Regions from separate parts of the Homo sapiens genome. Here all the other regions are linked to region 1. Evidence: promoter capture Hi-C in human tissues and cell types (Jung and others, 2019). All regions are on one chromosome and are shown on one strand. Each heading gives the region's core, a stretch centred on a gene start or on the middle of the fragment in contact. The rest is flanking DNA. Distances are from core to core; before and after follow the strand shown. Region 1 holds the start of KLF6 (KLF transcription factor 6). Region 2 has its middle 33 kb from the start of LINC00703. Region 3 has its middle 37 kb from the start of PITRM1. Region 4 has its middle 21 kb from the start of MANCR. Region 5 has its middle 46 kb from the start of LINC00703. Region 6 overlaps LOC105376373 (a long non-coding RNA gene). Region 7 has its middle 26 kb from the start of LINC00705.

The links. The method cuts DNA at HindIII sites, captures the fragments that hold promoters and counts their contacts. A contact is called where the count stands out against the background at its distance.
Region 2: a contact is called between a fragment that was not itself captured here and the fragment with the promoter of KLF6 in region 1, in 1 of the 25 tissues and cell types used here (IMR-90 fibroblasts).
Region 3: a contact is called between a fragment that was not itself captured here and the fragment with the promoter of KLF6 in region 1, in 2 of the 25 tissues and cell types used here (H1 embryonic stem cells and dorsolateral prefrontal cortex).
Region 4: a contact is called between a fragment that was not itself captured here and the fragment with the promoter of KLF6 in region 1, in 1 of the 25 tissues and cell types used here (dorsolateral prefrontal cortex).
Region 5: a contact is called between a fragment that was not itself captured here and the fragment with the promoter of KLF6 in region 1, in 1 of the 25 tissues and cell types used here (IMR-90 fibroblasts).
Region 6: a fragment that was not itself captured here is called in contact with the fragment with the promoter of KLF6 in region 1 in 2 of the 25 tissues and cell types used here (dorsolateral prefrontal cortex and heart right ventricle).
Region 7: a contact is called between a fragment that was not itself captured here and the fragment with the promoter of KLF6 in region 1, in 2 of the 25 tissues and cell types used here (heart left ventricle and stomach).

What each region holds. Positions count from the first base shown.
Region 1 is chr10:3,783,271-3,787,176 of GRCh38, forward strand. KLF6 (KLF transcription factor 6) reads right to left here and starts at 1,939. Exons shown (of 4, transcript NM_001300.6): 1 at 1,643-1,939. The coding sequence starts at 1,744. RefSeq lists enhancers at 67-136, 205-760, 761-1,317, 1,318-1,873, silencers at 1,479-2,078, 2,329-2,608, 2,789-2,848 and a promoter at 1,740-2,677. The HindIII fragment of the contact is 14,996 bases long and covers 1-3,906 here.
Region 2 is chr10:4,349,678-4,353,793 of GRCh38, forward strand. No RefSeq gene overlaps it. Among named protein-coding and RNA genes, the nearest start is that of LINC00703, 33 kb to the right of the region's middle. RefSeq lists a silencer at 1,980-2,274 and an enhancer at 3,345-4,116. The HindIII fragment of the contact is 6,417 bases long and covers 1-4,116 here.
Region 3 is chr10:3,207,431-3,211,578 of GRCh38, forward strand. No RefSeq gene overlaps it. Among named protein-coding and RNA genes, the nearest start is that of PITRM1, 37 kb to the left of the region's middle. The HindIII fragment of the contact is 4,743 bases long and covers 522-4,148 here.
Region 4 is chr10:4,697,276-4,701,326 of GRCh38, forward strand. No RefSeq gene overlaps it. Among named protein-coding and RNA genes, the nearest start is that of MANCR, 21 kb to the left of the region's middle. The HindIII fragment of the contact is 6,880 bases long and covers 1-4,051 here.
Region 5 is chr10:4,428,410-4,432,543 of GRCh38, forward strand. No RefSeq gene overlaps it. Among named protein-coding and RNA genes, the nearest start is that of LINC00703, 46 kb to the left of the region's middle. RefSeq lists an enhancer at 2,551-3,750. The HindIII fragment of the contact is 5,254 bases long and covers 166-4,134 here.
Region 6 is chr10:4,681,082-4,685,145 of GRCh38, forward strand. The region is part of intron 3 of LOC105376373 (a long non-coding RNA gene); the gene reads left to right. Among named protein-coding and RNA genes, the nearest start is that of MANCR, 5.0 kb to the left of the region's middle. The HindIII fragment of the contact is 6,523 bases long and covers 1-4,064 here.
Region 7 is chr10:4,627,765-4,631,704 of GRCh38, forward strand. No RefSeq gene overlaps it. Among named protein-coding and RNA genes, the nearest start is that of LINC00705, 26 kb to the right of the region's middle. The HindIII fragment of the contact is 4,312 bases long and covers 1-3,940 here.

The DNA of each region.
Region 1 (3,906 bases), core at 689-3,188:
CTTTCTAGCCACTGGAAAAGAAAAATGGTAGGAAACATTTTAGGATTAAATTATGTCTGCCCTGATTTTCACGAGGATCAGCTGCCTGCATGTCCATATAAGGTTGTCTATACTACTGGCAATTCTACAGATTTCAGTTTCTACACCAAACGGCTCTGGTGAGCACGTCATTTTTCCGGGCAGGGACCTTCCTGAGCGCAGCCTACCCCAGGGGCTCAGGCTGACTTAGCAGTGTGCCTCTCTCCTGCCACAGGCAATCCCTCCCCCTCCCCAGGCTCGCACACAGCCGGTGGGAGCAAGCACACGGGAGAATCATGCTTTCCCCTTTCCCCCGAAACCAGGCGTCTGAGTTACAATGCACACTACAGCGTTCTGAAGAGAGGCAGCAGCGATGTATTTTATTGATTTAACAAAGAAAAAAGAAAAGCACATTTATGGAGATCTTGTTAAACTTTAATAATCCGGCCAATTTAAAATCTCCATTACGCTGATGAGCACCCGGGACCTGAACGAAGCTCTCGGAGAGTTTAAAAGCCTCCAAAGGCGACCAAGAGCCAGGTCTGGCCGTTTGCCCAAATCCCAAACGCCCGAAGGAAACTACTTAGATCAATTTCAATCACGTCCTAGGGAGCAGCTTCTTTGAGGAGGAAAAAAACAGGAGGGGGAGGGGGAAAAGGCAGGAGAGGACTGTGAACAATTAAGCAGGCGTGTGAAGGTTGCAACACCCTGCATTTCATCTTCCTTAAAGCTTTCGAGGCTTGGAAACCCACAGCCTCTATTTGATCTGGCAATTCACTTTGTGACGAAAAACAAACAGCACAGCAGGGCAGGGAGACAACAGTAAACCCTCCTGCGATCGCTGGAGAGACAATGGGAGGAGTGTCAGTCTCTCTCCCCTCGGGCGATGCTACCTATAAGCACGGGGACCTGGTAAGTTTCTTAAATTTCCAATGCCCCCAAATTCCAGTTCTACGACAATGTCGGAAACCGAGGTCCTTCTTTCCAAACTAAGACTTGAAGCAGTTTGGACGGGCTCATTGTCACAAGACTGACAAGTCACTGGGGTGTACACAGTTTTATTTTTATTTTTCTTGGTCAACAAGAGAAGCAGGGAAGACAAATAAGGCAGATCTAGGGGAAATGTTAGGCATTCCAAAGAGCAGAAAACACATTGGAAATGGTCTACAGTTTAAAAAAGACAAAAATAAAAGAGAGCTGGTCTACGTTCTGGGGGCAAAATGTGATTTTTTTAAAAAACTGTTAAGTACAAGCACCAAGAAACAAAACAAAAACAAAATCCGTTAAAAAAAAACAACAAAAAACAAACAAACAAAAAAAAAACACCTTGGCAGGCAGAGCAAGTTGGTCCCCATGACAAGCTCCAGCTGTGGCGTCTGGAGCGGGGACAGGCTCCGAACTCGTGCCAGGGGCTCGGCCGGGCTGTGCCGGGAGTTGGGGCTTCCCTGGGCGGACGCTGATCGCAGCCTGGAGGATCGATCGGCGGGGGCGCTGCGCCCGCTCCCCCGGTGACAGCGCGGGGCCCAGGCCCAGCGGACCGCAGAGAGCACCGGGTCTGAACCCCAAACAGCCGACCCGGCCCGCGCCCCGGCGCCCGCAGGGAACCGCGGCCGGCTGCGTTTACCTGTTGCCAGTACTCCTCCAGAGACGGCAGCGCCGAGAAGTAGCCGGTCTCGTGCACGATCTGGAGCTCCTGGAAGATGCTGCACATGGGGAGCACGTCCATGTCGGGCCGGGTTGGACGGAGCCCGCGGTCGCGAGGGCGGCGAGGCGCGCGGTGGGAGCCGGAGCCGAAAGTCTCCCCGGAGCGCAGGTGAAAGTTTCATGCAAACTCCAGGCTCGCAGAGACGCCCGGCCGGACCCTCCCGCAGCCCGCAGCGCGCGGAGCCCACACAATATTTGCAAACACCGGACTGACTGCAAACGTAACCCCTGCAAAACTTCCCTATTCAAAGCTCCGCTGCCAGCCTCCCCCTCCGCCCCCGCCTGGCTCCCCCCACTCCCCCTCCCCCCACGTGACTCGCCCCGCGCCCGCCCCGTGCGCGGCCCAATCCCGTGGCTCCCGGCCCGGGGGCTGCGCGCCGATGATGTCAGCTCCGGCCAATCGCAGGCGGCGACACACAGCGGCCCCGCCTGGCGTGACCGAGACTCTCCATCACGGCCCGCACCATTGGCTCAATTCGAACTCTGCTCGTTCTGATTGGAAAGTGGCCTCGCAGGCTATTTTTAGCAGGGTATATAAGGCGCGGGCGGCCGCGCGCCGGAGGAGTCCGCGCTGTGAGGTGCGCGGCCGAGCCCTGCACTGCGCCCGCGGCCGGAGCTAAGGGAGCCGGGGCTGGGAGAGCCGGGGCGGGCCGCGTCGCCTGTCCCCAGTCCCGGTCTCTCTTCCCCGCTGCCCGGTCCCGCCACCCCACGCCCGTCCCGGTCACCAAGCCGGGCCCTGTCGCCGCGCGAGCCCCGGTTCCGGCAGCTCACCCTGCGGGCGGCCGTCCGGTCCCGGGGCCGCCCGGTTCCCCCCCGTCCCCTTCTATGCCCGAGGCCGCCCCGTCCCCAACTGTCCCCTTCTACGCCGGGGGCTTCCCGGTCGCCAACTGTCCCCTTCTATGCCCGGGGCCGCCCCGTCCCCAACTGTCCTCTTCTGCGCCGCTCTGTTTCCCTACATCCCCCTAGTCATCCTCTGTTCTCTAACCTTGGGGTACCCCTCTCTGTCCTCCTCCACCTCCGGGTCCCTCTCTGTCCCCCTCCATCCCTGAGCCCGTCTCCGTCCCCCTCCAGTCCTAGGGTCCCCTCTGTCCTCCGGGCCACCAGAGTGGGGGAGGGGAGCACGCAGGCTCCCCTTGGAATTGGGAGAAACGTGTTTATCTTGTAGAGGGCGATCTTAGCCCTCACCAAGGTTAACAGCTAGGTTTTCCCATGAACGTGTAAACAATTTAGGTGCAAGCCGACATTTAGTGTGTGTGTTTTTTTCCATATAAATTATCTCCTAAAATATACCGTAATGTTCATTTTTAAGAAAAATGTCGAGACTCGAACCAGAGCATTTTAAAATCCAAAATGGAAAACTGAATTGTAACTGTATTATAGTTTTTGTTTCAAAATAGTTTAATGAACATTAAACATTTTGAAAGAATGGACTATGTAAAAAAAAATTAGAGGGTTTTGTATGTTAAGTTTTAGAGGGTCCGGCAGAAGCATGTGGCTGTAAGACTAGGTGGGGACCTTAGTGAGTCTGGAGTGGAGAAAGGAGGTTTGTCTTGTACCTGCGGTATGTGGGCGGTGAAGGTTATGCAGAGTGAATTGACAGTGTTCTTGGCTCGTGTTCATCACATTTACCCCAGCAACTGAGAGCCAGGACCAGCCCTTCTTGGGGACCTGCACCTTAACTCTGTTTCCAGGAATGCAAATGGCTTTGTTTTGAACCATCCACAGATTTGCCCAAGCGCCCATTGACCGGGGCCCAGTGACTGGCAGCCGAGAGCATCTGGGCAGCCGTTGTGTTGGGGGCAGGGTTCTCTCAGTAATTAGCGCTTGTGACCTTGGCCCCGCTAGTTCCTAAGTAAGCAGGAGTGTGGAGCAAGTCCCCCGCTGAGGGCCAGGCACGCTGGATCAGGGGGAGCCCGAGATGAAGGGGGAAGGCTCTGTCTGGGCCAGGGAGGACAGGACGGCTGTCTTTGCAAGGCGTGTGGGCGTCCTGGTGAGGGTGTCCCATTTTATCTTTGGGACAATTAATTATTGTCTTAATGTTTTTTAATAAATCCACATTCCTATAGAACTTAAATTCATCCTTGTCTCTTAACATGCTTTGCCCGGCACTATGAAGATTATATAGTTTATTTTTACAAGAGGGAACCTGATTAGTCATAATGCAGATACAGTACAATGGCCATT
Region 2 (4,116 bases), core at 651-3,150, 570 kb after region 1:
GATACCAATTGCTCCACATCTTCACCAACACTTGTTATTATCTAATTACTTCTGTTTTCTTGCACAAGAATGTGAATGTACTTAACACTGTGCACTTAAAAATGTTCGAATTTATGTTATGTATATGGAATTTTCTTGTTTTTTAATTTTTTTAAATTTCAATAGGTTTTTAGGGAGCAGGGGGTGTTTGGTTACATGAATACGTTCTTTAGTGGTGATTTCTGAGATTTTAGCACTCCCGTCACCTGAGCAGTGTACTGTGTACCCAATGTGTAGTCTTTTATTCCTCACCCCCCTCCCACCCTTTCCCGTCAGTCCCCAAAGTCCAATATATCATTCTTATGCCTTTGTTTCCTCATAGCTTAATGCCCACTTAAGAGTGAGAATATACGATGTTTGGTTTCCTATTCCTGAGTTACTTCACTTAGAATAATGGTCTCCAATCCTACCCAGGTTGCTGTGAATGCTATTACTTTGTTTCTTTTTACGGCTGAGTAGTATTCCATGGTATAAATATATACCACCTTTTCTTTTTTCCCTTGTTGATTGATGGGCATTATCCTGTAATATATTTTAACAGACATAATCCCTAAGTTTTTATCACTTTTCCCAAACTTCTAGTGATTTATGATTACTCACTTTAATAATTCCCAAAGAGAGAGCTTGTGATTAAAAAATCAAATACTGGATTACAAATTGTGGTTGAAAGAATATTTAGGTACAAATTTAGGACTTGAAAATTGTTTTAGTTTTGTCATTAGCTAAGTTGCATGGTCTTCGAAGACGAATTTCGCTTTTCTAGACTTTGTTTTTATCTGCAAAGGAAGGTTTGAAACAGGTGAACTTCAATTATTCATTTAGTTGTAAATATTCATGATATGTGATTGCTCAAGACTGCAATCAACTGTGAGAGGTGGTAACTCCCAGGGCTTTAGCTAGGGTATATCACAGATACTTCCCTGATTTCTAGTGCCAGACACCAGGTAACTACTCACTCATTTTCCATTCACTCCGGAAAAATGGCAGAACCATATTTCTTAGGGTTTCTTGCAGTTAAATGGTAATGTGACATATATCTACCCTATAAAATGAGAACTGAAGTGGCACTCGCCATTTTCAGGCATAAAACTCTGTCATGTACAATTCCCAATGCTATCTTCTTCTTCACCACCTTCATGCACAGGAGCATGGCAGCCTTGGAAGTGTTGAAGCTGGTGGAACCATAGGATGTAAGGACCCAGGTCTCTGAGTCACTTCCTTAAAAAGAGCCATCCATTGACTAGGAACACCAATTTCTGCACATTCTTTGAACGATAAATAGACCTCCATCACCTTGGAATGAGAAACAGACCTCATTTTTTTTCCGAGCCATTGTATAGTTGAATGGATGCTTGTCATAGCAACTGACATTACCCTGGCTATTGGATTCTACTTCCAAAAAACTGCATGGATTAGGCTTGACTCAATTAAAATGACTTCAAGTCAGTCAGCCAGATAACAAGATATATGGAAATCTACATATTTCACTCACACAATGCTAAATAACTTGTTTGGCAATTTTATCCTTGTTGGAGTTAATGGTTGAACCTGAAAATGGTTGATTTTCTTATTAGTTCCTGGTTTGGTTTCTCTATCTTAATCTTGTGTTTTGAGGCTGTCATGTAACTACCACATAAATTATCTCTGAACATACGTTTTTGTATCAGTTTGTTTTATTAACATATCCCCTTAGTTCACTATTCAGAAAGCTGTCCCTTGGCCTGTGTCTTAGAGACAGCCTGAGATTTGATTTGCATCCTTGCATTTTAGTGCCTTTGCACAGTCAGAGAAGAAATAAAATCAATTCAAGCTTTGGAGGTACAGAACATGCTACCCCAAAATATGCCACTTTGGCATAAGGATTCTTTTGGGCTAAAGACAATTGAGAATATGCTAATACAAGAAAATCTTTCAAACCCTTCCCATATGCCTAAGGCAGGGCATCATTTGTAAAGGTGTCTCCCTTTCTCTCTACCCAGAAGGACAGGAGTTAATCACCGAAAAAACTCTAGCCCCTTATCATCCTGTAGGGTCCACAGAAGTTGACCTAACAAACCTCACTCACTAGCCCTTGCCTTGTAGCCTCATATGTTTACTATCTCCCAGTTTGCTGCTCTGGAAACTAAATGTCCGTTTTCTTTCTCTTGCCATCACTGTAATAATTAATTGTTCTTTTGTTAAGATGCTATAGAAGCCCAAGTTCAAACCACCCAGTAGAGTGACTCATCACTGGGTTTTCTTATGTGTATGTAGGATGTGAGTGTTAGTAAACTCCTGATTGTTTTTGTCTTGTTAATCTATGTTTTATCAGTCTAGTTTGCAGGGTCTCAATCAGTGAACTTAAGATTGGCGTAAGAAAAATACATTTTTTCCTCTGCTACAATGTCTTCGGGAGGAGGCACATTATTCTGCCTACCACATACAGCTACCCTATAAGGCTGAGTGGTTGTTTCTAATTCATGTAGTCATCAATTTATCCACACAATAAATATTCACTAAGCACATGCTCTCTTTCAGGCACTGTGCAGACTCTGGGCTTAGAGAGCTGAGCAAGACAGTGGAGTCCCTCTGGAGACCCAGAGACAAGAGGAAAGCAAAGACCAGCTATGAAAGCACATCCAAAGGCCTGAGCATTCCCAGGGATGATCTGCAGAGGACCTGGACATGGTTGATGCAAATCTTGGTGGACACTATAGGATGTGTTAGGTTCAGGCCCACAGGACAGGATCAGAGTTCACAGCACAAAGACCCTGTTCTCTGCCAGGGTCTGAGCACTTTCAGGGAACACTTCCCAGAGTTTTCCACTCACAGAGCCTGGTGAGTAGCTTTGCTAAACATCAAGAAATCATCCTGGGGATTGAATTAAAAGGTTGGCAAGCCGAGAAGTCTTGGGATCCTCTGGACTAGGATACCCCTTTCAAGAGGGGAGATAAGTTATCAGGCTTTCAGGCTCTTGATAAATGTCTTACAGATGGGTGATTATGAAATGGCTGTGTTGTCACTTTACAGACCTGCGTTCCTGCCGAATGCACACAGACTTGGATCCTCTGAAAGTCTGTTGAGGTTAGCACTACCTCCCGCGTAGATGCTCTTTAACACAGTGTGACTATTGCAGGTCTTGCAGGTCGGCTGCCTCTGGGGAGGGGTAAAATGTGCTTCGTGCCAATCACTAAGTGGTGTTCAGGAGGAAAAGAGCTGGAGGAAAAGCAGAGGAAAGGACAAGTTATGATGGAGAAGCATTTTTCTTGGCAACAGCCCTTCCTTCCTCAGTGTGGCTGGTGCCTCCTCACCTTCTCACCTCCTCACCTTTCACAAAAGATTCTCAGCTCCCTTCTTCCTCTTATCTTTTCTTTTTTTCCCGCCGGCTGTTTAGAGTGAGAAAAATATCTGGAAGAGACAATGCTTTGATAAGAAATGATTAAATTCCACTGTGATTGGGGGCATCACGACCACTGCCGAGTTCCATATCTCAGAACACAATAGCCCAGCAGGGACATCCGCGTGGACTGCGTTGCCTCTGCCCAGCCATGGAGCAAAGGTCTCTCATTTCTCCTCTCACTTCAGACCTGCTGCAGCGCTCACACTGTCCTCCTATAATAATGCCAGAGAGAAAGAAAAGCCCTTCGACTCATGTCCCTGGCTAGGGCTGAGATTTCTAGGAGGAGGTAGGGAGGATCGGGGAAAGATATGAATTCTCTTTAGATAAGTGGCTGATTGAAAAATGTAAAAGGATGCTTCTCGGGTCTGGTACTTATGATATCACCAGCATCCATCTGTGTTTGTTAAGCATCTCTCCAACCACTGGGATGTTTGCAGGTTTATGTCATACTCTTCCAGGAAAATATTTAATACATGGACAAATTAGGAGCCAGTGTTAGAAACAAAAATAGATAAACTGTTAAATAAGGGTTGTGGTTCTCTCAGAAGGTGCTAGTAGGAGACTCTGCTTTTAATGTCTACTTCTATAAACAGATCCTAGTTGCTTTGCTGCTATACAAAAAGCAAACCTTTTATAATCCTGTTTTCAGTTTTTTCAATATTAGTATTCACTATGAAGTCTCATTTACTTTATCATTT
Region 3 (4,148 bases), core at 1,643-4,142, 570 kb before region 1:
CATGTGCTTTCCATCGTTTATCTTTCCGAGGGATGGGTCCTAACCCTGCCCCTGGCCCTGGGAAATGCATCCCTCCCCCGGTCAGTTCATCCTGGCCTTGGCCCCTGCCGGCGTTCTCTGCCTGCCTGAGACGGATGCTGCAGGGGCACCTGGGATTCCCTGACAGCTCCCCGGGCCTTTGTCAGAGTGACAGCCCGTTTTGTGTTGTTGTCACCTGCTGCCTCCTAAGGTCACTTTGTTGACTTGGTTTGCCATTCAACTTCATTTTGCCATAAAATGCTACTCTGAGTCAGCCTGCTGGAGAAAGCACTGCCAAGGTGGACAGTCAGGGAGAGGCACAGCTTCCAAAGCCTGTGTTTCTCTCCCTGTGATGATTTTGCCCAAGCCTTGCTCTTTCCCTGAGTCCTTCACCTTTGCGAGCAGCACCAGGGTCGGGAAGTCCATAAGGAACACCTTGCTGTGGTTCAGAAACTGCCCTCAGGTGCCCTCCAGAGAGTGCGCCTGTACGTGCCCAGTATTTCCAGTGTAAAATAGATCCTTGCTCAAATCCATTTTCACGTGTCATTGTTCCTCCTGCCCCACTTCACAGGATTGAATTCCAAGATTGAGGCTGGGTTTCTGTGTTCCAGCAAAATCTCTCACATGGTCCTATGTGGCCAGGTAGGTCAGTAACACACACGGTAAGACTGTGCGTGATGCCACAACAACGTGCCCACCTGGCTGCTGAATATAAGACCAAATCTCAAAAGTTACTTTTTTTTTGTTTTTTGAGATAGGGTCTTGCTGTGTCACCCAGGCTGGAGTGCAGTGGCACGATCATCTTCACTGCAGCCTTCGATTCCCAAGCTCAAGTGATCCTCCTGCCTCAACCTCCCCAGTAGCTAGGACCATAGACATGCACCACCAGGCCTGGCTAATTTTTAAATTTTCTTGTAGAGATGAGGTCTTGCTATGTGGTCCAGGCTGGTCTCAAACTCCTGGCCTCAAGGGATCCTCCCACTTCAACCTCCCAAAGTGCTGAGATAACAGGCAAGAGCCACCGTGCCCGGCCGGAACTTGTTTTGGAAACAGCATCGCTGCCCCACACTGCTCTGTGACAGGTCTTCCTTTTCCCTGGTGAGAGGGTCCTGATGGCCGAGTGCCAGGCTTGGCGCTTCGGCCTTGTTCCTGCGGGTGCGCTGCTTCCTCTCTCAGGGCATCAGCCTCTGACGGGTGCCCTGGGTCCCTCCGAGGTCTCACGACTCTGTGTCCTCCGAGGGCGTGACTTTCCTGGTTGTGCCTCACCCTGAGCACCCCCACATCCTCTGTGTGTGTGGTGAGCATGTAGACGACACCCCTTTGCGTGGTTCTGCTGGGGCAGAGCAACAGCTGGCAGGCTTGGGCCCGAGGACCCCGAGGTCAGCTGCAGAGGTGGGGACAATCACCTCTCGCCTTTCTGAAGCTACGGCCCCAATTCCGACGAGCTGGCTGGAGCCTGAGTGGCTGCCGTGGACACGGATACACAGGAAGCTGGCGCTGGCCTTCCTCGCCGTGCCCCTCGTGTATTTAGGGTGTTTCCCACAGAGAGAGGGGATCACTTCTCCTTTCAAAAGGAGCTACCGTTTAGTAAAGATAATGCAGCACAGAGTTTCTCCGTGACAGTCAAGGTGGTTTTATTTTGAGGAGGGGTCCTCCGTCTATCAAAAGATTGGGAGCAGAAGCAGAACTGAAGAACAACAAATTCCATGTGGATGGCTGTGTCCCTGGCACCTGGTTGTGGGCTGAACTGTGTCCCCTGACTCATAAGTGAAAGCCCTAACCCCAGTGGGGTTTTATTTTGAGATAGGATCTTTAAATAGGTCATAAAGGGTAAATGAGGTCCTAGGAGTGGGGCTCTAATTCTCATAGGACTGCAGTCTTTGGTCAAGAGATCGAGACCATCCTGGCCAACACAGTAAAACCCCCTCTCTACTAACAATAAAAAAAATTGCCGGGTGTGGTGGCACGTGCCTGTAGTCCCAGCTACTCGGGAGGCTGAGGCAGGAGAATTGCTTGAACCCGGGAGGCGGAGGCTGCAGTGAGCCAAGATCGTGCCTCTGCACTCCAGCCTGGGGAGAGAGTGAGACTCTGTCTCAAAAAAAAAAAAAAAAAAAAAAGAGGAAGAGGTTACGCTCTCTGTCTCATCTCTTCCTTGCTGTCTCTCTCCATTTTTGTGTCTCTCTGTCTCTGTCTCTCTGTTATTCTCCCTGTCTCTGTCTCTCTGTTTTTCTCCCTGTCTCTGTCTCTATCTAGCTGTCTCTGTCTCTCTATTTTTGTCTCTGTATTTCTGTCTCTGTGTTCCTCTCTCTGTCTCCTCTCTCTATCTCTGTCTCCTCTCTCTGTCTCTGTCTAGCTGTCTCTATTTTTGTCTATGTATCTCTGTCTGTGTGTTCCTCTCTCTGTCTCCTCTCTCTGTCTCTCTCTCTGTCTCTGTCTAGCTGTCTCTATTTTTATCTCTGTGTCTCTGTCTTTCTGTTTCTGTCTCTGTCTCCATCTTTGTCTCTCTCCAGCTGTGTCTCCATCTCTGTCTCTCTCTGCCATGTGAGCACACAGTGAGAAGGTTGTCATCTGCCAGCCAGGAAGACAGTCATCACCAGAAACCAACCCTAAGGACACCTTGATTTGGACTTCCAGCCTCTAGTGCTGTGAGAAAATGAACCTCTGTCGTTCGAGCCGCCCAGCCTGTGGCATTTCATCATGGCAGCCTCCTGTTCCAGCTCAAAATCAAGCCAATCATTGCAATGTGTGCGTGGGGGTGGTGGGCGGCCTCAGTGAGCTTATTCAACAATTAGTCTGCCTCCCAGGCAGTCGTCTTTACAGTCATCCTCCAGACCCCACTGCCCTTGGACCCCACAAGCCATGCCCACAAATACTTCTCCATTCCTCTGCCTTATTTTCATTCAGGTTCTGCTCTCCGTAGATGACAGCAGCTCTCCTGAGACATCCACGGAAGTGTATGGCTTTGTTCAGGTGCAGTATTGGCAGTAATACTGTTCCCCACCAGGTGCACCACAGGCTGGGCCCACGCCAAGCCCTTTGTGTGCATATCATGCATATTTTCACGAGGGTTTTCTTTGCACCACTGAGAGAAAAGCTTCATTCGACAGACCTTGCACATTTGTATGCGAAGTCCAACTTCTACTGGACTTCTGCTGTTCTTCAAAGCACGCATACACCAGGATCATGCGCTTGGGTGCCCAGGACTTTTTATTTTATCCTCTCATAGATGAGGCTGAGAAGGCACCAGAAACTTGGGGGCCAGCCAGTGGCATGCTATGTTCTCAGTGAAGCTGTTCAAAAACAGTAATTACAGTGCTAGAAATAAATGTATTCATGCAAAATTAAGAAAATATACAGTTTTCCCCTTCCACATTCCCAACATTATAAACAGACACACCAATTGTCTTACGATATAAAAGTCAGAATTAGAAGTATATAAAGTAAATAAAGTAAAAATTCCAACTGCTGCATTCTAGAAACTCTTAGGATGCATGTTTTCAAAAGACAATCAAACACAATCACCAGGAAAAACCTTTGATCTGAGATATGCCACTTTTTTTTTTGGTCTCCAAAGTATACTATTTTCCTCTGATTATGTTAATTAAAGAAGATTACCTTTAATAACATAAAATAGAGATACTTTGGGTCCTATTAACTTGTATTTCAAGCTTGCCTCAAGCACTAAAGAGAAAAAATATCCTGTTTTTCTCATGAAGAGGCATATACAACTTCAGCCTCAAGAATACATTCAGTGTTTGCATTTTATGAAAACACACTTTGGACATGTGTACCATGGATGTGCGGGTATACTGATCTAAAGATGTATTAGTATGGTGTATGAGATCAAGTTTGAGAATATTGCCTTATCAATCAAGCAAAAGCATCTCTAAACCTTTAAATGCTTTCCTGTGGCACAACGCCACCAATGACTATCGTCTCCAAGTGTCTGCAGCACTGCTAACACCAGCCCCTCAAATCGCCTCCTGTTGTATAGCTCACAACATTCTTATTTAGGGTCTTGTTATACAGGTGTAACCTTGGGCTCACACCAGTGATATTGTTTGGGACAGGAGGTGACAGGGCTGACAGCCAGACTTGGGACAGACCTGGGCTTAGATCAATTGATTATT
Region 4 (4,051 bases), core at 523-3,022, 910 kb after region 1:
AGTGCAATTATGCCAGAAGGAATCTTCAAAATCCCGGTGTGAAGGAACAGCAACAAAAATAGCAAATATCATCCAGGCTTGGTGGCTCATGCCTGTAATCCCAGCACTTTGGGAGGCTGAGGTGGGAGGAACCCAGAAGCCCAGGAGTTCGAGACCAGCCTGGTCACCATGGCAAAATCCCATGTCTACAAAAAATACAAAAAAAAAAAAAAAATAGGTGGGCATGGTGATATGTGCCTGTAGTCCCAGCTACTTGGGAGACTGAGGCAGGAGGATTCCTAGAGCCCAGGAGGTTGAAGCTGCAGTGAGCCGAGATCGCACCCCCCTGCATTCCAGCCGGGGGGACAGAGCCAGACCCTCTCTCAAACAAAACAAAACAAAACAAAACAAAACAAAACAAATAGTAAATATTTGGGTCAAAGTAATAGAATATTTTTCTACTGCTAGAAAGCTGTGAAATATACATGACCTTAGGAAACAAAAGTTCTAATCTTGTCTGGGGCAGTTTAATATAGATAGATAGATGATAGATAGATAGATAGATAGATAGATAGATAGATAGATAGATAGATAGATATAGATAGATAGATAACTGATAGATAAATAGACAGATGTAATGCACATGGCAACTGTAATAAAAAGAGGAGGCCAAATGATTCTATTTGGTTGCAAGTCTGCTATGTTGGGAGGTAAAATAATAACTGAAAGAAAATCGTGACATTAGACAGGTATATTTTTATTTCTTGATCAACCACTTAAAATAGTAAAAAGAGATATAGCTAAAACACAGCACATGTTAAATGAAATATTTAAAAGTATGTATAAAAGCAAAAAAATGAAGGCAAGTATATTACTTGATGTTGACTCTCATAGCAGAATATCACAGACTGGGTGGATTAAACAACAAAAGACATTTAGTTTCTCACTGTTCTGAGGGCCAGAAATCCATAATCCAGATACTAGCAGCTGCGGTTTCTGGCAAGCCTTCTCTTCCTTCCCTGCAGACAGACACCTTCTTGCTGTGTCCTCACATGGCTTCTTCTCTGTGTGTGCACAGAGAGACAGTGCTGGGTTTTTTTTCCTCTTCTTGCATGGATACCAGTCCTATTGGACTAGAGCCTCACCTTTATAAACTAATGTAACTTTAATTATTTCCATAAAGTCCCTAACCTTCAATATAGTAGCAATGGAAATTACAGCCTGAGTATATGAATCTGAGGAAGATTCAAACCTTCAGTCCATGATAATAAGGAAGAACCAGAGAAATAAAAAAATAAAAAATGACAATCAGAAAATAATAAAAATGTTAGAATTAAATCTAACCAAATCAGTGATTACATTAAATTTAAATAATCTAAACACACCAAATCAAAAATAAAGATTGACAAATCGAATTAAAACAAACAAACAAAAAGACTTGACTGTATGGTGGTAAGGTATCTGCAAGAAACCCACTGTAAATATAGTGATATAGATAGGTCTCAGAAATAAATTGGCACCTTTAATGTCAATTCATTTTTGACAAAGGTGCCAAAAACACACAATGGGAAAAGGACAGTATCTTCAATAAACGTTGTTTGAAAAACTGAATATTCACATGCAGAACAATAAAACTAGATCCTTATCTCACACCATATACAAAAATCAACTGAAAATGGATTAAAGATTTTAACATCAAACCTGAAACTAAAACTACTAGAAAAAAACATATTGGAAAAGCTCCATGATATTGGTCTGGGTAGAGATTTTTGAATATGACTCCAAAAGCACAGGCAACAATAGCAAAAATAAACAGATAAAATTACATCAAACTAAAAACTTCTGTACAGTGAAGAAAACAGCAAACAGAATGAAGAGATGACTTATAGAATGAGAGAAAATATTTGCAAACTCTACATGTAACAAGGGTTTAATATCAAAAATATATAAGAAATCCAAACAACTCAAGAGTGGCCCAATTAAAATTGAGCAAAGAACCTGAATATACATTTCTTCAAAGAAGAAATACAAATGGCAAACAGATATATATAAAAAAAAGCTCAACATCACTGATTACTAAAGAAATGCAAAATAAAACCACAAGACATAAAACCTCATACCTGTTTGAATGGTTATTGTCAAAAATACAAAAGATGACAAGTGTTGGCAAAGATATGGAGAAAATGGAACCCTTGTACACTGTTGGTAAGACTGTAAATTAGTACAGCCATTATGGAAAACAGTATGGAGGTTCCAGAAAAAATTAAAAATAGAACTATTATATGATCTAGCAATCCCATTGCTGGGTTTGCATATCCAAAGGAGATGAAATCAATATCTCGAAAATATAGCTGCATTACCATGTCCATTGTGGCAATATTCAGAGTAGCTAAGATACAGAATCAACCTAAGGGTTCATCAACAATAGTTGGATAAAGAAAATGTGTGATATATACACAATGAATATTATTCAGCAGTAAAACAAAGGGAAGCCTTTCATTTTTGCAACATGGAAGAAACTGGAGAACATTATGTTGGATGAAATACTCTGTACTTAAAAGTCACTAAAAGAGTAGATTTTAAATGTTCTCATCATAAAAAATGTTAATTAGCTCAATTTAACCATTCTACCATGAATTCATAGCTCAAAACATCACGTTATAAAACATAAATATATACAACTTTCATTTGTCAATAAAAAAGTAATAAATTTTAAAAATAAATAAAATGAAACTAACAAAAATAAAATATTTAGGTGTTAAAATTATGTGTGGGATTGGTATATTCAGAACAACAAAACACTGATGACAGAATAAATGAAGACCTACCTAAATGGAGAGATATACTATAGATATGAATCTGATGACCTCATTTTAGAAAGTTAATTGGCCCTAAATGGATCTAGATTTAATGCAAATACATTTAATATGATACAAAAACAATTAAAATTCCATCAGGATGCTTTTTAGATATTAAAGAGCTGATCCTCAAATTTATATAAAAAGGGAAATGAAGTAAAGTAGTTAAACTTCTTTTAAAAAAGAAGAACAAATTTGGAGGAACCACTTCACCTGATTTGAAACTTACCATAAATCGACATTATCAAAGAGAGTACTTAAAAAATAGTGGACCTCCAAAAATCCTCTCCTCCAAAATAACAGTAAGATCACTGGCAAAGAAAAAAAAAATCATTGCAATCAGCCTTTTCAGAACTGTAGAAATAAACAAAAGACTTGCAGCATTCTCCAGAGTGTTTATTCCAGAAAAAGGCTGACTCTTCATAAAAGCTTTGTGACATTTAAACTTGCCCTATTCGCATCCTCCTCTCCCTAGTTTCTTGATACTCTTGACAACCAGAAGCATAAGCAGTATGGCAGTTTTAAAAATCAGAAGCCTGGCAGTCTCTGGAAGAGGAAGACCATCTTCGGATTACCCTGAAATTCCCTATTCCAGGAGAATTGAAACCATTTGTCCTGTCTAACAGCAACCAAGAAAAGCATCTTTGTCAGGCCTTATCTTTATTTGACCTCAGAGCTCAGTTAGTGAGAAATGCCCTGTGTTATTTGAAAAAAAAAAAAAAAAAAAAGCAAAAATAAGAATAGTGCCTGAGGTAGCAATGATAATTGAGGCAAATAAGAATCTGTCCAAAAGCCTAAAAAATATATATAGGGAATTAGTTGTACCTTAAGGACTTTGAAAAGCTCTACCTCACCCTTGGAAATCTAGATTGTGCCCCTGTACAGGGCTAAGTGTGTGCCAGGAAAGACCTCAGAACACCTCAACCTCTCACTTCTGGCCGTCCTTGAGACTCCATTCAAACAAGAAATGAAGAGTGAGGCAGATTTGTGAACTGCTGGAAAGTGAAGGCATAACCCAACACATGCACCGAACTTCTCAGTAGAGGGTGAGAGACTTACTGGTTCAAGGAATTTCAGGAAATTTGTGACCTGTCATTAGCTCATCAACAAACTGAGTGGAGGCCTTAGTGATTGCACATGGCAAAGAATAGAGACTATGGAATTCGTTCTGGGAAGTCACTAAACAAACAAAGAGCGACAACAGCAATAACAAA
Region 5 (4,134 bases), core at 1,543-4,042, 650 kb after region 1:
TTCTCGTGAAAAAATTGTTAGAATGCTTTGAACTAAAAAGCATGATAGTTCTGATGAATTATTACACTGATCATTGTATTTTCTTGAAAATGAAACAGTGTCCTTGCGTAGTTTCCAATAAATATCAAAAGACAACTTTTTCTATCATCTGGATATTTCTTTTTCAAAGTAGAATCCTCTACCAGCTGCTTCAAATGGAGTCATCCTTTTCTTCTGTGTCCTTGTTGTTCTAAATGGCCCTTTTTCCCTCTGGCCTCTATTGAAAGTTCCTCTATATCACTAGCATTCCCCAAACCAAATAGTGTTTCTAAAGCATTTCCATTTCAATAAGTGTCTCCATCCACTCACTGACACATTGTTTTAGATTGTATAACCTCAACCTTGGAAGTCAAATGCAAGCATCATCACTCCTCTTAGTTCTGTTTATGAGACTTAGAACAGTATATAGAGGAAAAAATATGTTGGGCTTACAGAACTTATTTTTCACAAAGCTGTGGTACACATATTTGCTGCAGATAGGAGAGCAAAATCCATGCAGACTAGTTCTTGAGTTTCACTCAACATGGAGTTCACATACATGCAAGTAAAAACACGAGTATTACTAAAAAATATCAATTTACACATGCCAGAAAACTGGGAAACACTGTTTAACAAAGGAAGCACAATTATACTCCTTATATCAGGCTCAAAACTATTTACTTCTGATTAGTTTTTGAATGTATACTGTTTCTTGGACTTGAATAAAATAAGCATGCTGTCTTGGTTGCAGTGTTCATAGTATCCTAATATCAGGGAATGAGGACAAATGAAGAAGTTGAGGAAACCATGAACATTTCCACCCATGAATAAAATCACTGATTTGACTGGCCATAGGTCTTTTATTTACGTTTGTTTTTTCACAGTATTTTGATTTTTCATGGTCAGGTTGGCCTCAAAGCCCTCCCACTAATTAAGGCTGATTTGAAGGAATGAACCATTCCCAGTTAACCTGTGGCCCCTTAGTAATTAGCTCAGTACCTAGCAGCCAAGACGTATTCAATAAGTACATGCTGATTCCATGAACAAAACAGAACCTTAATTCTTTTAAAATGACTTTTTCTAAAACAATGGTTAGGGCCTCCATATTACAAGAAAATTTTTATCTTTTTTATTGTAAAGCATATCCTATAACATGTACACGTGATATGTGAACTCTGTTCATTTATTTATAAGCATCAGAGTTTTGAAAAGCCTGCTTTTAGAGTTTCAAAACATCTTCAGCCAGACTTCCTTTGGCACACAACCTTGGTGTCTGCGTTTGGATGCGGTCCTTCAATTTCTCCACACACCCTCAAAACAGCAGAGCCCTCAGCTCATTGCTGCTTCAATCAGCTGCCTGTGTCGCAGAAGCTGAGCCGGCACACACGGTGGACGCTGGCAGATAAAACACGAAATTGCTAAAGGAGCCATGACAGATGGGAGAAATACCTCTAAACCCAAATCATGAGGGTTATCAGAGCATGACACACCAACAGGAACCAAGCACCAAGAATGCAGTAGCTATAAAATCTCAGTCCGCTCATTGCAAGCCAGGTAGACATATATTTCAGTCCATAAGTAAAACTGTTAAATTAATACGAAGCAAAGATGAGACACAGTTAGCAGAATTATCTTGAATTTATTAAACTTATGTTTAAGGAATGGATGAATGAATTCAAAAAGGCATGAGATATCAGAAAAAAAAATTGAGTCCTGTCATATAAGCATTTAATATATACCCAGCATGTAGAATGTAATACTATCTATGCGAAGTGTTATTATGTGATCACTTTTAATCTTTTCTGTAACTAAAAAGTCTGTAACCTTGCATGAAAATGATACAGACAATATTAGAATAACACATATCCTGCTGGCAGGGAGAGACACTTGGAGCTCACAACCACCCCTAAACCATCACTCAAAATCTTATTGTTATCCTAAAGGCAGAGTGGCTTCAATGTCCAATTATCCACATGTAAAATTATCTCATTCCCTCTCCAGTTCAAACTTTGATGTGCCAAAAGAATTCTCCACAGAGTGCAATACTCTAAATGTGGTATATTGATGATGTTGTAGGGGCTATTTATGGTTTTGTAAAGGGTTATTTTTACTCTCAACCATCTTCTACCCATGTGCTGACCTTAAAATGTAACCTTTTTTAAAAGATAGAAAATAATTGTGTTTTTAAAAAGGCCCAATCACGCCATCAACAATGAAAGTCACAAGAATGAAAGTCAACTATTTTTGATTGCTTAATTGACTTTTTATTTCATTTAATTAATTTTGTTAGAAATGTGTCCAACTATAATTTGTACATGATCATAAAATGGGTAATTGATAATACTCTTATAACTTAATTTTGACAAACATACATTGGAGTTGGTAAGCTTATCTCCTATGGAATTGTAGAATTATATCTCTTAATATAATTTTGATACAGTGTTTATACATAGCATATAAAGCATTCTACATAAGTTGCATAGTTTTTAGTTGTTTCATGTGTAAATAAGAGTAAAAATACTTATATCACAGAAAGTTGTGAGACTCAAATAAGAAAAAAATTACAACTAGATGCATATGTTCGAAAACTTTGATATCCCACTCCCTTGCTTTTTTTAGTTGAGGGATGTGTATTGAGAGTCTGTGCAGACTAACTCATTCTAGAATAGCATAACGTGAAAAGACAACAAAAAAGTAGCTTTTCTAATAACAACTACTATCAATAGAATGCTTACATTTTTAACCAGTCACTGTTCCAAATGTTTTACATTAAATTGCCTTTTTAACCCTCAAAGTATCTCCATGAAATCGGTGTTAATCCTGTCCTCATTTCACAGCGCAGGCAAAGGAGGTGCCAAGAAGAGAAAAGGTGAGCCCACAGTTACAGAGCTGGTGAGCTGCAGAAGGTGGATTCCCACCTAGGATCATGGATGCAGAGCCCACGCTCCTCGCTGCGATGTTATGCTGCCTTCGTGTCCAAGATAAGTAAAATAATCTCTGTTTCAAAATGTTGAAAAGAGTTACAAGTCTCAGAATCAATGTTCCCTTCCCCATAGTCCACCATTCCATCATGATCCCTTTTGTAGTAAACCGTGTAGCATGACTCACAGTTACAATCATGCCATAGATTCAGCAAGATCAAAGCATTGCAGGAATTCTGAAGCTCCGCAGAAATGTAATCCCTTCCGAGAGAGATGGCCGTAGCTGGACCAGACATTCAAGCAATCCTGCTGTGAAAAAATGACAAATGATTACTTTGGACATGGGGGGAAATACCTTTAGCTCAGTCTAGGCTTCCCAAGTATAGACAGAGTATAGATTAAACCTCCAAGTCTATCCCACACTCTATACAAGGGAAAGGCTTATACCTTCGGCTTTTCCACTTAGACAAGATGAAGAGCTAAGTTAATACAGCTGGAAGTTAAGCCATTTGTTCCAGATGGTGCAGATATTTCAAACTCGGTGTTCCTAAGGCGATGGTAACACACGGAATTTTATTCTGGTAGAAGCAATAATGTGTGTGAGAGTGTGATGTTTACTCGTCTGGTATATGAACAAAAAGCACATCTATTTAAGTAAATATCTGTGTTCACAAAGCAGAATACAGAAATGGGGTAATTACCTGCATAGTCAAGCTTAAAAAATATGCCTTTGACTCAAAAATCTGATGATTTTGAGCTCATTTTTTGCTTTAATAATCTGTTTAATTGCTTTACTTATGGATTTCACTTCTATGTAGAAAAAGCCTTAAGAAACAATTTGCTTGCAGGCACATCTTGGAGATATTGCAGGTTCGTTTCTAGGTCATTATAATAAATATTGCAAAGAAGTTAGTAACACAATTTTTTTGATTTTACGAGTACATACAAAACTTATTTTTTTACACTATACTGTGGCCTAAGTTTGCAATCGCATTATGGCCAAAAAAAAAAAAAAAAAAAAAAAAAAAAAAAAAAAAAAAAAAAAGTGCATACCTTAACTTAAAAATACTTTATTGCTGAAAAATGTTAACAAATATCTGAACCTTCAGTGAGTCATAATTTTTTGCTGATGAAGGGTCTTGCCTCAATGCTGATGGCTGCTGAAGGTTGGAGTAGCTGTGACAATTTCTTAAAT
Region 6 (4,064 bases), core at 480-2,979, 900 kb after region 1:
ATGTTTTTCTGATGAGATCAAAGTTATCTCAAAACAGTATGTGACTTTTTAGTGTATGTGCTCCCCCAAAGCATCTGAACTAAAAAACCTGAGTGTTTCTTCTTTTCAGGTCTGAGTTTAAGAGTCAGGTAAATACATCTTGTTAAATATTTCTAAATTATTTTCTCTTGTATGATTTTCCTTTAGAAATTGAATTCTCTCTTTTCTTTGGGTTTTGCTGAAAGGTTCATCGATCATTCAAATAAATTTCACAAAAATATTAGGAGTAGGTACAATGGCTATAATGCATAGTTAACAGAGAGATCATTATGTCTGCCTCTGAGGACCTGGGTGTGGCCTCTGATTTCCCTGGACAGTGTTTTGGGCTTCCAATGAGAAAGTCTCTCAAAGAAGGACACTCTGCAAGTCACGGCCCTAGGGCCGGCCATCACCTAACGTCTTCAGATAAATTGTTTGTTTATGGATTCAAAAGCAAGACAGTTAATGAATGTCATCATTCAGTTTTCAGTTTGAATATTGTATTTTTTATTTATTCAGAACCTAGCATATAATATTTACACAGGATAATATATTTTTTATAAATTTTATTTATATATTTACTATATACTGATTATGTGCTGTGCTATTTGTGATAGAAGGATCCCAAATGAATGCAATGTTGGCTTTTATCCACAAAACACTATCATGATATACACGTAAAATATACATGTGAAAATAACAACATTATAAAATAATAAACCGTATTTAAGAAGCAGAATATTATAAACTTCAGCAGAAGTACAGAAGTGTATATAATATGTTATTTCTACATTTCATTCCCAGAATATTTCTTAAAATACATTCTATTTTAAAGGTAAGGGAACTAAATATTTAAGTGCAAAAAGAAATAGAAAACCATTGTAAATATATAGCTAACTCAGGCCAAAAATGTCTGTTTTACTAGTTCTTTTAAATGATAGGTTAGTCACAAGAAATAAGCATCAGATGAACTGAATCAGTTTCTCATTATTTTCTATTCGACAGGTTAATTTCAGGTTTATACATAAGATGAGCAACTTACCAAGTGCTTCTAATTCTACTTGATAAAATGATACTCCCTAAGCCACCTTGACTGGGTGTGAAAGAGGGCAAATAAAGGCTTAAATACAATATATCTTCCTGATGAGATAACTGCAGACCTATTTGTGGGAGAAAATTGCTGCACATAAGCATTTGTGTTTGTTTTATATTCACTTTAACTGTGAAGAGGGAAATGAAGTTCGAGCGGAAGCCATGAGACTCTATTGTAACAGCTCATGAAAAATTACAGCTCAACATCCAAACATACATCTGTCTGTGTCCCTATGTGAATTAATACAGTATTTTAAGGCCAACAACAAACACAAATAACCAATTCTAAAGCTATGGGAACTACTTTCTGCTGATAACTGCAAAAACACAGAAATAATAACATAAGTCATGGAAAACTATGTAAGACCCAAAAAGATAATGGCTAGATTATTTCAACCAAGGCTTGCTTTGGTATTCATAGAAATAAATCTAAAGCATCTGCTCTAATGTATCATTAAACTTTTATCAGATCATAGTCAGAATGCATGAGGATTAAAACTCCTTTTAGCTGAATAAAGCATGCTAAGATATACATCGTTCGTGTTAAGGTAGTAATCATCTCTTGGCTAATGAGCTTCAATGGACTGATAGGCATTAAGCCTGTTTTGAATGCAAGCACTCATATCTTGACAACAAAAGGGGAATATTTTTATCATTTTGGAAATGCAGTACAAGCATGTAAATAAATATGGGCCATGTTAGCTTTTGTTCGAGTAAGGAATTAAATGTCTTCTGCTTACCATTTAATATGATCTTTGAGTTGTTGTTCAAATGAGCTAGGTGGCTCTTAAGCAACTTCCCTGTGTGTTTTGTCGTGAATGCCACTTATTATTATACCCATAAGCTTCTTTTTTACCAGGGAGTATCCTCCTGTCAAATGACCAGCACTTCCCTACTTATTCTTTCCTTTTGTTAAATTTTTAATCAGCTTTTTAAATTCACACTGAAGTATGAAGAGCTACTTCCATCAACGTGTCATGCCTTCCTGGTGCACGTGGATTTTTTACCAGAAGTGAATGAGAGAAAAGAAGAATTTTTAGATCTCAATTAGAAGAGGTGGCAAAGGTGAAGACAATGGGGCTTTCTGTTTCTACCCCATCCCCTGGCCCTTGCCTGGTTGCTACACTTCTCTCAAGTCCAGCTGGACACACACCTGTAGAGAAAGTTACCTACTCACTTCCCTTTTTGAAAACAGGAAGCCATGAATTTGTCTTTTGTGAAAGCCTGAGTCTCCTTATTGGATATAAATTTTGCCTAGCAGTGATGCCACTCTTGTATTTTTGTTTATGATTATTGGACTTCAGAGCAGTCTCAGTAATCTTTTTGCCCCCTGGAAACTGAAGAAATACTTTAAATGATGCTTGAAAGAGAGGAGAAAACATTATGGATTAGATGGGTGAGGATATTGAAAGACAGTACCTTTAAGAATAACTATTGGGATCAATATAGTATTCATTTAACCTCAATTTTCTTTTTCTTTCTTTTATTTCTTTTTTGTTTTTAAGACAGACTCTTGCTCTGTTCACCAGGCTGGAGTTCAGTGACATGATCATGGCTCACTGCAGGCTCAACTTCTTGGGCTCAAGTGCTCCTCCCTCCTCAGTCCCTGAGTAGCTAGGACTGCAAGTGCATGCTACCATGACTGGCTAATTTTTGTATTTTCTGTAGAGACGGGATTCACCATGTTACCCTGGTTGGTCTTGAACTCCTGCGCACAAGCGATCAGCCAGCGTCGACCTCCCAAAGTGCTGGGATTACAGGCATAAGCCAATGATCCCGGCGTTGTCCTCAAATTTCAATGAGACATTACTTGATTCCTAAAGGCAGATTACCACCGTGGTACTGAGGGATGAATCATGTTTAGAATGAGTCTCCCCTCATCTAAAATTATTTTATTGACTGTCTTCCAGGAGCCTCCAAGTTTGCATCACTAAAAGTACCTGGTTGAGGCTCAGCACAGCACTTTGGGAGTCCTTAATAATGGTTAAATTTATGACATGTAACACAACCATCTTTGACAGTCACTACATGAAGGAGTGATTGAATTGCTTTGTAACCTTAACAGATGGCTGAAAGGAGGGTCTGGGTGACTTTGAAGGAGTATGGGCCAGTACTGAAAAGGGGCAAAAAAAGGGACACAAATCAGATCAAACGTCACCAAGTGGCTACATGAGAGTACTACCTACTTGGTTGAGGGGCTTTCAAGAAGAGAAGAGAGGGCTGACTTAATGACTACTCTGTCTCCAGGACTCTTCTACCTGGATCATTGCAAAAAAGAAAAAATTGGGCTACCATAGCCCCACTCCCATTCAGACAATAGTTTGTTTTACAATAGAGATTGCATCTTAATCCATCTTCAAGCATGAGCACTTACCATACCATGTGACTCATGCCAGTGACACAATCAGTGTTTGTTGAGTGAATGAATGAATACATGAATACAATAATATAATTTTACTTGAAGGAGTCTCTGGCATTCCATTTAGACATTCTAATTTCTTTTAATGTAAACAATAGCATCAGTAGAAATGCTAGGTATTCTTTATAGTTCTATTTAAAAAGAATGGAAAAATACCAGCAGGGATTGGGAGACAAAGCCAGCTGTGACTCTTTGTAGCAAGAGGAAAACATTTTATAGGTATCTCTATCAAGTGATCTTTCATTGGAAGAATAACCTCTGATGGTCAAGGCAACTGGAAGGAAGGGCCAAAAATGCAAAGCATGCAAGGAGATTTAGTAAGCCTCAGGGACACCAGAGCAGCCCTGAAGAGCAGGGGCAGCATTAGCAAACAGCCCCTGTTTTGATATAAGTAATAGATCAATCCAATTTCCAAGTCATCTCCATGTAGTTAACAACAACAATAACAACAATCTGTGTCTAGATGACTTCATGTTCTTTCTGGGGCATGCCAGTATTCAGTGCAGCATCGCTGAGAACAACATACACAACACAA
Region 7 (3,940 bases), core at 640-3,139, 840 kb after region 1:
GAAATTTCCATACTGGGCAATACACAGTGTGGATGACTTTAGCAGCCACACAGAAAAGACTCCTGGGTCAGACAGAGCAGCTTTTGAAGGCCAACTCCTTCACTTTCTAGTTAAGATCCTACGTATTTCTACTTATAACCTATCCAAGCTCCAGCTTTCTTCTTTGGAAAAGGTAAGTAATTCCACATATGTTTTTGTAATTATTCAATGGACAGATGCACAAATGTACACCTGGCATTAAGCCTTGCAATTGGTAACTCTTGGCTTCTCTTTCATTCTTACTGGACAGGACCACAGGACCAGGCATTTGGACATCTCCTGCAGTAAGATGAATGTGTATTTTGAGACTCTAATTAGGTTGTCTAGTTAGCATCCCAAAGCTTCATATTCTTTCTAACAGCACGTTTTTTAGGTCCTTGTATACAGAAGCTTCCTCAAGGTTTGTTTTCCTAAGAACACATCTCTACTGGAAGTGGGGAAGAGGGTGTAGGAAGGGGCTGTGCATGGGCTGTCTTCCCAGGGTGACCTCTCACCATCACGGGACAATGGAAGCAGCAACGGCTTCCAATGACTGTGGCATTGGCTCCTCTTCCTGTAGGGATGCTTTCAGCCTCTCTTCTTCCCTGAAATACCCTCCACTTGTCCTCTTCAGCAAGGTCATGGGCATAGGGCTTCTCCTTCCTTAAGTCCATGTGGAGGTGGTCCTGTTCCGGGCTCCCCTTCCCTCTCCTCCTCTCCATTTCTCCTCTGCCTGGAGCCTATGCTCCCAACAACAGCCTGGGAGCTGGCGCTACCTCAACTGCACCCTGCAGGCTAGGGGTGGGCATAGCTGGGCCACACTCATTCAGTGGTGGGGACATGAAGCTAGGAAGTCATTGGTTCCCTTTCATCATAAAATTCACTCCTCTTGTACAGGCCCAGTCTAAATGATTTAGGCAGAACACAGGGAGCAATTAAAGGCAAGGAGGCATCAGCTAGGCCTACCTTGATTCTGGGCCCTGCATATCCTGCACACTTAGCTTTGCACAAGCAGCTCAAACTTTATTCTGCTGCACTCTACCCTAGGATCCATTAAATGTGTGTCCTTAGGAAAATCATATGCCAGGAAGCTTCCTATTTGAAAATACTTCAAAACTGTGCTCTTAGAAACAATAAGAAGCTTTGGGACAGATTCTTAAGTGATAACTAGATAATCTAATTAGAATACAAAACCATTCAATAATGAGCAAGTTATTATGACCTCCTTATAGGGTTGTCATGAGGATGCAATGTAATCATATACAAAGCTGAGCAGATGCTGGCACTTCAGGGCAGCTCAAGATGGTCATTTTTGATGCTTTTGCTCTTGTGAAGTGGCTCCACTCACAGTCCTGCAATGCTGAGGCACCCCTCTGGGGTCCTCAGCAATCTCTGTAACTAACAGGCTTCACTTTCTGCTCTTTGGACTCAGGCTACATCAGTAGCCAGTGGCCTTTCTCAACTGCATCCAAACTAGACCCCTTTACTGTGAAACTCAGGGGTCGCACACTCAAACACCTGACCTTTCTCCCCAGGAAGGAGTGACATGTTTTCCCACTGTGGTCACTCAAGTCTCTCCCCCAAGGATCCTCATCTCTCTTTATTCAGCCTCTTCTCTTTCCAGAATATATGGCCGTTTCCTGTTATCTCAATGTGTTCTGTAGAGGTGACAAGTCAGGGGACACAGCTCTCTATTTGTTATCTATAAAATATAATTTGGCATCATGGAATTCTATAAGTAAAATACTAAAAATACAAAAATTAGCCAGGCTTGGTGGCGAGCGCCTGTAATCCCAGCTACTCGGGAGGCTGAGGCAAGAGAATTGTTTGAACCTGGGAGGCAGAGGTTGCAGTGAGCTGAGACTGCACCACTGCACTCCAGCCTGGGTGGCAGAGCAAGACTTCATCTCAATAATAATAATAATAATAATAATAATAATAATAATGAGAATGAAGAAGAAAATAGGGTATTGTCATTATGATACTCTAAATCAGCAGTTCTAAGCAGAAGTAAAGAATGTGTCACTTGTTTTCTTCCATCTCTTACGCTCTGATACCAATTGCTGTCCTTGGACTAAAGTTCTATGAGGATGTTTTCACAGATCAAGAGAGAAATGGGCAAAATAAGAGCAACATTATGACTTTTTTAAAAATAAATTTACAGTTATTGAATTAAACAAACAAACAAAAAAACTGTCTTCAGAAATTATCGCCCTTCCTCCTTCATAGGTATTAAAACATCATTAATTTTTTGAAATAATGGTGTCACAAAATTGTAGTTTTATGCTTTTAATGTTCTTACTTGAAAAAATATTAAATTAATAACACTATATTGTTTTCTCCATAATGTGTTTTTGAAAGTTTTCTTGTCTATTATACACAAAATTTGAATGTAACATCTGCCCGTAAAGTTATATAAATTAGATAAAAATTAAAATAAAAATTAACAAGTAAATCTTTGCAGATATTCTAATACTAACTTATCTGGATCCCTTCTTTTTCCTGGAATATTTTTATCTAAAAAAAAGCCTCAGCTATTTTAACCTATCTGTACAGACATGTGCTCAGTGTATGTAATACAACAAAGAGAGATGGTATCAATAGAAGACTATAAAGTGCTGTGGGTTCATAAAGAAATGGCCAGTAGAAAGCAAGACAATTTCCCATTTTGAAATTGGCAAAATGAAGAAGATGATTATAAGATAGCCTGAGAGAAAACCTTAAAGGCTGGGCTTAGCAAAATGTCACTCCCAAGCTGATGAAAAAACAGAACACCCAATTCTGTTGCCTACTTTGCTGCCTAGGACCTCTGATGAGTCTCAAATAGTTACTGCTGTTTTGAAACAGCCATACCTTGTCTCAAAGAGTTACTGCTGTTTTGAAACAGCCATACCTTTCACATCTTAGTGAATGCCATGCACGTTTCTTAAGTCCGACATTAAACATCAAGGTTGGTAGGATTCATCTCCAAGATATTTCTACAGTCAATGCCTTCCTCCTCTTCCTCACTGCCAGTATTGTTGCCCACTCATAGTGATTTTTTTACTGGTTCTAGCAACTTTCCTACCCTTCCCTCTGCTTCAGAATCCCCTCTTTAGGAGCAGTAAAATGAGACTGAGCTAGACAAAATCCTCCCATCAAAGACTTCCCGCTACACTTAGAGTGGAGTCCTGCCTACCCTCCCCACTTGGTGTGAACTACTCTGCCCTGCAGCTCCTTAACTGCCGGAGCAGATGCTCAAAGGGTGGGAACACCAGCCACAGCTCATGATATGAATGGCTGGTATTCTCACCCTTTGAGCATCTGCTCCTGACCGTCTTGTAGAGTGCACACTGGCTTATTCCCTGCTCTACTACCATTACATCATCTTATTTATTTTCTTTCTAACACTTTGCACACTACCAAGGTTTGATTATTTTTATTGCCTGTTTCCTACAAAAACATATGCTCCCTGAAGTCTGGGAACAACTTTTCCATTTAGACTTACCTTCGTTTCCTTAGCTGGCTAATGGTAGGCTCTCAAGTATTAAATAACCTTGCAATGCTCTACAGTACATTCCACTTCGAAACCTTATGAATACTGCACACTGTAAATCTGGAGCGAGGTGAGACCTGCACATGTGAGGAGTGCATGTGCTCTTCCATGGAAACGTGGAATCGTTCATGGCTTCACACCAATTTAGAATATCACAATGGCTTCATAAGAGAGAAATGAAAAAGGAAGAGATGGTTGGTCTTATAAGAAATGCTTGAATGAGTGCGCTTTTATGAGGAACAAGTATCTAAGGAGGAGTTTGCCATTGCCAAGACCGCGTGGACCCCAGCAAAGAAAATTAAAATCACTATGAAGACAATGCTGGGAAGAACTTAGACATGGGACCTTTACGTGTCCAAGTAAAGGGCAGCTTCCAGCCTTGTGCAA